Linked DNA regions of Homo sapiens: region 1 is linked to region 2. Evidence: promoter capture Hi-C in 16 types of primary human blood cells and fetal thymus (Javierre and others, 2016). All regions are on one chromosome and are shown on one strand. Each heading gives the region's core, a stretch centred on a gene start or on the middle of the fragment in contact. The rest is flanking DNA. Distances are from core to core; before and after follow the strand shown.

The links. Contacts are between HindIII fragments. The CHiCAGO score rates a contact against its expected background, and 5 or more counts as called.
Region 1: a contact is called between a fragment that was not itself captured here and the fragment with the promoter of VPS18 in region 2, in 1 of 17 cell types (naive CD4 T cells). The highest score is 5.5, in naive CD4 T cells.

What each region holds. Positions count from the first base shown.
Region 1 is chr15:41,810,924-41,814,255 of GRCh38, forward strand. It overlaps MAPKBP1 (mitogen-activated protein kinase binding protein 1), which reads left to right. Exons shown (of 31, transcript NM_014994.3): 4 at 1-22; 5 at 255-312; 6 at 1,034-1,204; 7 at 1,593-1,730; 8 at 1,996-2,178; 9 at 2,698-2,858. Among named protein-coding and RNA genes, the nearest start is that of JMJD7, 16 kb to the right of the region's middle. The HindIII fragment of the contact is 1,838 bases long and covers 462-2,299 here.
Region 2 is chr15:40,892,526-40,896,198 of GRCh38, forward strand. It overlaps VPS18 (VPS18 core subunit of CORVET and HOPS complexes), which reads left to right and starts at 1,925. Exons shown (of 5, transcript NM_020857.3): 1 at 1,925-2,334; 2 at 3,413-3,554. The coding sequence starts at 2,244. RefSeq lists a silencer at 1,641-1,810 and an enhancer at 2,651-2,740. The HindIII fragment of the contact is 16,460 bases long and covers 1-3,673 here.

The DNA of each region.
Region 1 (3,332 bases), core at 131-2,630, 920 kb after region 2:
ACCACATCCTCAACAGTTCCAGGTAAATGGGCTGGGGTCCTCAGGATACCTCTTCCTTCTGGGAGCTATGAGAAGGGCACTGTCTAGAGTCTCTATGGCTCTGGGGGCTGGGACCTGGTTGGGTCCTAAAGCCAGATGGGGAAGTGCCACATGTGCCATTGGTGTCTGCTGGTCTCACCTTTTGAGAGGCTGGGAGGGGGCTAGGCTTAGGCCAGGCTGCCAGTGCCCCTCTGAGCCTGCCCCATCTCTTGCAGGAAAACCATCACTGCCCTTGCCTTCTCCCCTGATGGCAAGTACTTGGTCACTGGAGAGGTGAGTGAGGAAGAGGGCTGGCAGTACTGTAAAGAGGGCAGGTGTCCTGGCCTCCGCAGAGAGCTGCGGTCCTAGGCCTGCTGTCACTTTGGCTTCTGAAACAGACACCAAATCCTGGTTTTCGCTATACCTTAAAATAGTGGTTCTCAAGCTTTAGTGTACATCAGAATCACTTGGAGGGCTTGTGAAAGCACACATCACTAGCCTGGTCCTCAGAGTTTCTGATTCTGTAGGTCTGGGATGGGAGTCTGAAATGTGCATTTGTAACAAGTTCCCAGAGAGTGCTGATCCTGCTGGTGAAGGAAGCGTGCTTTGGAAACCACTGCCTTAACTATTCCTTACCCCCGGGGGCCCCCTGCTGGGCTCAGGAGGAACGCTTCTGTCCTGGCGGCGTAGTCTTACTAGGGGCAGAAATAGACCTGAGTGGTAGTGGCTCTCAATGCCGGCTGCCCATCAGAACCATTCAGGGAGCTTTGAACAACCTGAAGTACAGACGGCCACCCAGAGATGCTGACTAAAATCCGGGGCCACTTTCTTCCTGGTAATCACTGTTGCCCTCAGATCTTTATCATATTTCCTCTATACCCTGCCCTGACTTTTGGCTGGGGAAGTGATGGTATCTAGTAGCTGAGGAGGCGAGGGCCCCGCTCTGGAAGACGAAGTGGGGCTGTATGCCTGTGGAGAAGTCAAGAACTCACTTCCAGTTCTTGCCTCCCTGCAGAGTGGGCACATGCCTGCCGTGCGGGTTTGGGACGTGGCAGAGCACAGCCAGGTGGCCGAGCTGCAGGAGCACAAGTATGGTGTGGCTTGTGTGGCCTTCTCTCCTAGCGCCAAGTACATTGTCTCTGTGGGCTACCAGCATGACATGATCGTCAACGTGTGGGCCTGGAAGGTGAGTGGCTGGGTGGGGTGGCCTGGCAGCCTCACAGGGGTCAAGTGTCAGCTGGGGAGGCAAGAGACTGCTGACCTGCACTGCTCCATTCCACCCCACTGAACCATTCTCATTCTAGAAAGTTATTTGAAGCAGAAAAGAGCAACTGTGTGGCCAAGCATGTTGGTTGAAGGGGCTAGCTTTATGCCTTCAAAGACTTCTGCAGGAAACGAATCTTTTCAGCTCCTCTAGAAAGGGATTATTTCCCTACCCCTCTTTTTCTGGCCAGTAAATTCTGGAAAGAAACACTTTGTCAAGTACAAATTCTAATTCTCCTCCATTCTCTGAGTCACTGTCTTCTTAGCTCCAAGAGACAGAGCCTTGATTCTTCCTTTGGCATCCCCTCCAGAAAAACATTGTGGTGGCCTCCAACAAGGTGTCCAGTCGGGTGACAGCAGTGTCCTTCTCTGAGGATTGCAGCTACTTTGTCACTGCAGGCAACCGACACATCAAATTCTGGTATCTCGATGACAGCAAGACCTCAAAGGTGAGGTGCTGAAGCTGGGAGTAGCCACCAAGGCCCCTGGCAGGGCCTGCCCAGCCCAACCCAGGAGACTCTGCCCCACTTGGGCCTCTCTCTGCATTCCCAGCAGTCATGCAGAAGTTTTGGATGAGCCAGATGCTGTCTGGGCTGAGGAGTAGGCCCAAAGAGCAAGGAGGTGCTGGAGGCGTCCCCTGTACTCTCCTAGGGCCCAGTTTCCAGGGGCAGGCTCTGGGGTGGATGGGGGTGTAACAGTGGTGTGCCTCCACAGGTGAATGCCACTGTGCCCTTGCTGGGCCGCTCAGGGCTGCTGGGAGAGCTACGGAACAACCTATTCACTGATGTGGCCTGTGGCAGAGGAAAAAAGGCGGACAGTACCTTCTGCATCACGTCCTCAGGGCTGCTGTGCGAGTTCAGTGATCGAAGGCTTTTGGACAAGTGGGTGGAGCTGAGGGTAAGTACCTCCGTCCCCAGGGGTAGGGTCTGCTCATGTCTCAGCTCAGGGGAGAACTAGTGCCCAGGGCTTCAGACTAGGGGCTGGTCCCTTGTGCATACGGGAGATCCCAGGAGAACGAAGCTTGGGGGAGCTAGAGCTTGGCCCATTTCCAGCCCTTGGTGATCTGTATAACTGCCTCCTCTCTGCTCTTTCTGTCTCTTTCCCCTGCTTTCCTCTTCCGCTCAGAACATAGACAGCTTCACAGTAAGTGGTGCCTGCACCTTCCTCTCTTTCTCATGCTATTTCTTTCTCTTCACTGGGCTTTTCCTACTGGATCCTCTGGTGCCTAGAAGAATCCTCGGTTCCTAATCCCTGGCTGGACAGGGCTGAGGGGCTCAGAACAGGGCAGCTGGGCGGCTTTTCCCTTGCCCCTGCCTTGGCCGGTCCCTCCTCTTGGCAGGTGGCTGTTGATGGGTGGGGAGGAGAGAAGACTGAGTGGGCAGGTGGCCTTGCTGAGCTGAGCCACTCTGCCCACAGACCACAGTGGCCCACTGCATCTCTGTGAGCCAAGACTACATCTTCTGTGGCTGTGCTGATGGCACCGTGCGCCTTTTCAACCCCTCTAACCTGCACTTCCTTAGCACCTTGCCCCGACCCCATGCTCTGGGGACAGACATTGCTAGCGTCACCGAGGCCAGGTGAGCTATGTGGGCCCCCCTTCCTCCATTTGTAGCCTTACCCCTGCCCAGTCTTTCTTGTCAGTGCCTCAGGGAGCAGGTGAAGAGTGTATTGATGCCCCAAAGATTATTGGGAACACCTCTTTAGACAGAAGAATTTGGGTTTATTGGTACTTGTTGCAACCAAGGAGACCCCACCCCATGGAGAACTGTGGAGAGTCTCAGTAAGTGGGTGTTAGGAGGGACATATGGGATTTGGGTTTGCGTTGGGTGATTTTAGGAATCGTTCAAGGGATTGAAGTATTCTGGTTGGATGCTGTCCGGAACTAGGGGCAATTCTACAGTGGAACATCTTGTTAATTTATCTAAGAGGTGAAGGAAAGGTATGGGGCTAAAGCTGTATTTGGTCAAGAAGCCGCCAGCAGTCATGTAGATGGGAAAGGCGGTGTTTGGTCATTGTCATGGTTCGTTGTGGTTTGTATGGTGATCTTGTTT
Region 2 (3,673 bases), core at 675-3,174:
CATACAGGAATCCTCTCTTTTGATGCCCTAGCAGTCATCCCTTACCTGTCTCATTGCAACTGCCACACTTGATTCTGTGGCTCTCAAAGAATCCAAAGTCCAGCCTAAGAACTGAAGAATGAGTAGGTGGAAATGCACTGTGGTAATCAACGCATAAGGGAGACTGTACTGAGTCTGCCACAAACAGGGTCCACCCAGGCCTATCCCATACATCCCGGAGAGCCATGGAGCCCAACAATGGGGTGCTGGGGTCCCTGAGGCTGTAGCTGGAAGTACTCTGTGTCCCTAAGGCAGCACTCCTATGCTGACCTCCAACTGCTAATGGGCTCTGTGCAGCAGGGACAACCCTCTGCACAGTCCAGACCTGAGGGCAGATGGCAGGTGACCTGGGGGTGAAGTGTTATGTATGGAGCAGGGCAGCTCCCTGTCTGGGATCACTTTTCTTAGAGGAAGCCTCCTGCCTATTGTCCTGCTCCTGCACTTCCCTCCTGGGACCTGGCAACCTCAGGTGGGAAGGCTGCATTGAGGCTGCAGGCTTGGTCAAGAGAAGCAGGACCCTGGTGCGAAGGGAAATGAGCCTGGACAGCATACTTGTCACCTGCCCCAGGACTAGTGCCCCTCCAAGCCAGAGAGCCCAGATAGCCCTCAGTGGGGCTGGTGAGAGTCACAGTTCTCCGCACGTGGCCAGGAAGTTGAGCAAGAGTAACCCAACCACATAAGGTATGGTGCAAACCTGGAAACTTCTGAGAGCAAAGGGATGCTCTTAGTTGTTAGGCGGGGGCCGCCCAGCAGAGCCAGGACGGTGGCGACCCTAGTCCAGAGCCTTCCACTTTAGCAAGGTAGAATCCAAGGGCCCCAGAAGGGAACAGACTCCATCTGGGTCGCCTAAGCAGGTGAGAGAGGAAAACCCAACCACAGTCGCGCCCCAGCCCTCGCAGGTCCCTGGCTGAGGACTCCCCTCTCCACCTCAGGCTGGGCGGCCCCCGCCTTCACGCTTGCTCCCACTTGTCCCTCGTTCTTGCTAGGCTTGGCAGGTATTTGTTCCCTGCTCCTTCACGCTCTCAGTGCCGTGGCCACGTCGCTGGGTACGCCCCACCAGGCAAGAGACATTTTCCGTCTTGTTCTCTGCCACGTCCCCAGAGCCTGGAACAGTGCTTGGCACAGAGTGGACGCTCATTCGTGGAGTAAGTGCCTGATGGATAATCCATCACTTGCTTTTCTAGTATGAATGGTCTATTTACGGGTCCAGCGCCCCTGCTGGCTTACGACCTTTTCCAGGGCGGGGAGGGGCTGTCCTCATCTCTGTGACCCCAGCGCCCAGCCCAAGGCCTGGCACAGAGTAAGTGCTCAACCACATTTTGGTGAATGAGTGAATGGAAGCGGCCCAGCAACCCTGAGCCAAGGAGCCACTGTGGGGCAGGTCAGGGCGGTTCCTGGCACAGGGCTTCCCACTAGCCTGGCCACCAGCTCTGCGGTCTCCTGGAAGCTGGGGGGCCTTTGGGTAAGGGAGAAGAGTGGCCAGGAGTTGTCTGCGTGTGCCCTGTGACGGTGGGATAGAGACAGCGATTGGATTGAGGAACGGGAGGTTCCCCGAGGCTGTTTAGAGAGGCGGGAGCGGGAGCTGGTCAGGGAGGCTGGACAGACCACCCGAGGGAGCGGAGCTTGGGCACGAAAGCCAAAACTGGGCGGCGCGGGGCGGGTGGGGAAGGCCGGCTGAGAAAGCCGGGATTGCCTCCTGGTGTCAAAGCTCGGAACTGCAGCAGGATCCTGGGGGCGGGGCTTGTGTTCAGCAGCACTCGCCACGCGCCCAGCCCTCAGCCCTCGTCTCGCCTTCTGCTGGCTGGCCCGGCGACGTTGTGCGCCAGCGTACGCGGGGCTCTGAGAACCCGGAAGTTACGTTTTAGGCCCGCGTCACGGGGGCGGGAGTCAGCTGAGCTGCCGGGGCGAGGTTGGGATCACCTGGCACCGGCTGAAGGGAGCCTGTGATTTTTTTGTAGCGGGGGCGGGGAGTAAGGTGCAAGACTGCGCCAGATTCAAGGACGAGGGCTGCCCGATTATCTCGCTGCATAAGGCAAGAGCAAGAGGATCCTCAGGATTTTAAAGAGGAGGCGACGGCTGCAGGTTCCCAGGATCTGTCAGAGGCTGGGGAGTTACAGCTTCCATTCTGGGGCGACGGGGACCCCGGGGGGGTAGCCCTTTTGTAATCCCCAGGCCCCGGACAAAGAGCCCAGAGGCCGGGCACCATGGCGTCCATCCTGGATGAGTACGAGAACTCGCTGTCCCGCTCGGCCGTCTTGCAGCCCGGCTGCCCTAGCGTGGGCATCCCCCACTCGGGTAAGGAAGAGGAGGGTGCCGCTGCCCCTTTCGGCTCTCCTAGCATTTGCGTGGGAGCAGCGAGGAGGGCAGCTCCAAGAGCTCGGGGTCATCCCCTGGGCCGTGCCTTCCGGGTCTAGGCCCCTGATTCTCCTCAGGCTCTCTTGGCCCCCAGCTGGTGGATAGTCGAAGTTTGAAAGAGCAACGGGAGCTGCCGCGTGATCTAGGCTCTACCGCTAGGGTCCTTTTGAGAGGGAATTGGGGCCCAGATAAGGAATTACTCACCTACAGGGCGCAGTTGGGCTGTTGGGAGAACTTAGAATGGGCTCCCGGCTTCTGCTGATGCTTTTCCCACCAGGCCCCTTCTGGAGGTGGGAGGGAAGGAATGGACAAAGAAAGTGGTGAAGGCGGAGTATTGCAGAGGAAGAAGGGAGGGTCCCAGAGGGAATTTTGTCGCTGAACGGGGAAAATGGAGATGAAATCTTTTTGGCCTTGGCTATAGCTGGGTGCAGCCTGGAGTTTGGGGACGTTTTTGTAGAAAGTAGTGAGTCTCCAGGAGAATGAGGGCATAGGGAGCCCTGGGGAACTGTTCCAGTGAGTGGAGTTAACGAATTGGAGCTGCTTTCACTCTAGTCTTTACCTTCATTCAATGCTCAAAATATCCCAGCACTTGCCAACTCTACACTGAGGCTCATTACCGCATGGGCAGGGAGGGGGGCAGAGAATGGGGCTATACTACTTCAGTTAAGCTGGGATTGCTGGGCCAAAGACCTGATAAGGGAGAATACCCAGACCACCAGTCCCGTCCCACCTCCACGCAGCCCCATTACCAGTGGGAGCAGGTATATCATGCTGTGACAGCATCTTAAGGGTTCAAAGAATCAACCCCTCACTGCTGTCAGAGTGTGGAAAGAGCTCCAGACCTCTATTGTAAAGGTGACCAGCAAACGACTTGATATCAAACTATTTGTTAACCAAGGTCCTGGGGATAGGAATATGTCAGGAAAGTGGCGAGGAGCACTGTGGTGTTTTTTCTGCCTCTCCTTGCCCTTCACCTGTCTCTTCCACAGCTAATCTTCTTGTCATTCCTTACCTGTAGGGTATGTGAATGCCCAGCTGGAGAAGGAAGTGCCCATCTTCACAAAGCAGCGCATTGACTTCACCCCTTCCGAGCGCATTACCAGTCTTGTCGTCTCCAGCAATCAGCTGTGCATGAGCCTGGGCAAGGATACACTGCTCCGGTAATCAAGAGCTCACAGAGCTTAGGAGTAGGGACTAGAGAGGTGTTTGGGGACTGTTAACTCACTGGGCCTTTCTTCTATTCCAGGCAAGTAAAGCAGTGAATTTGGAGTTTTCAGGA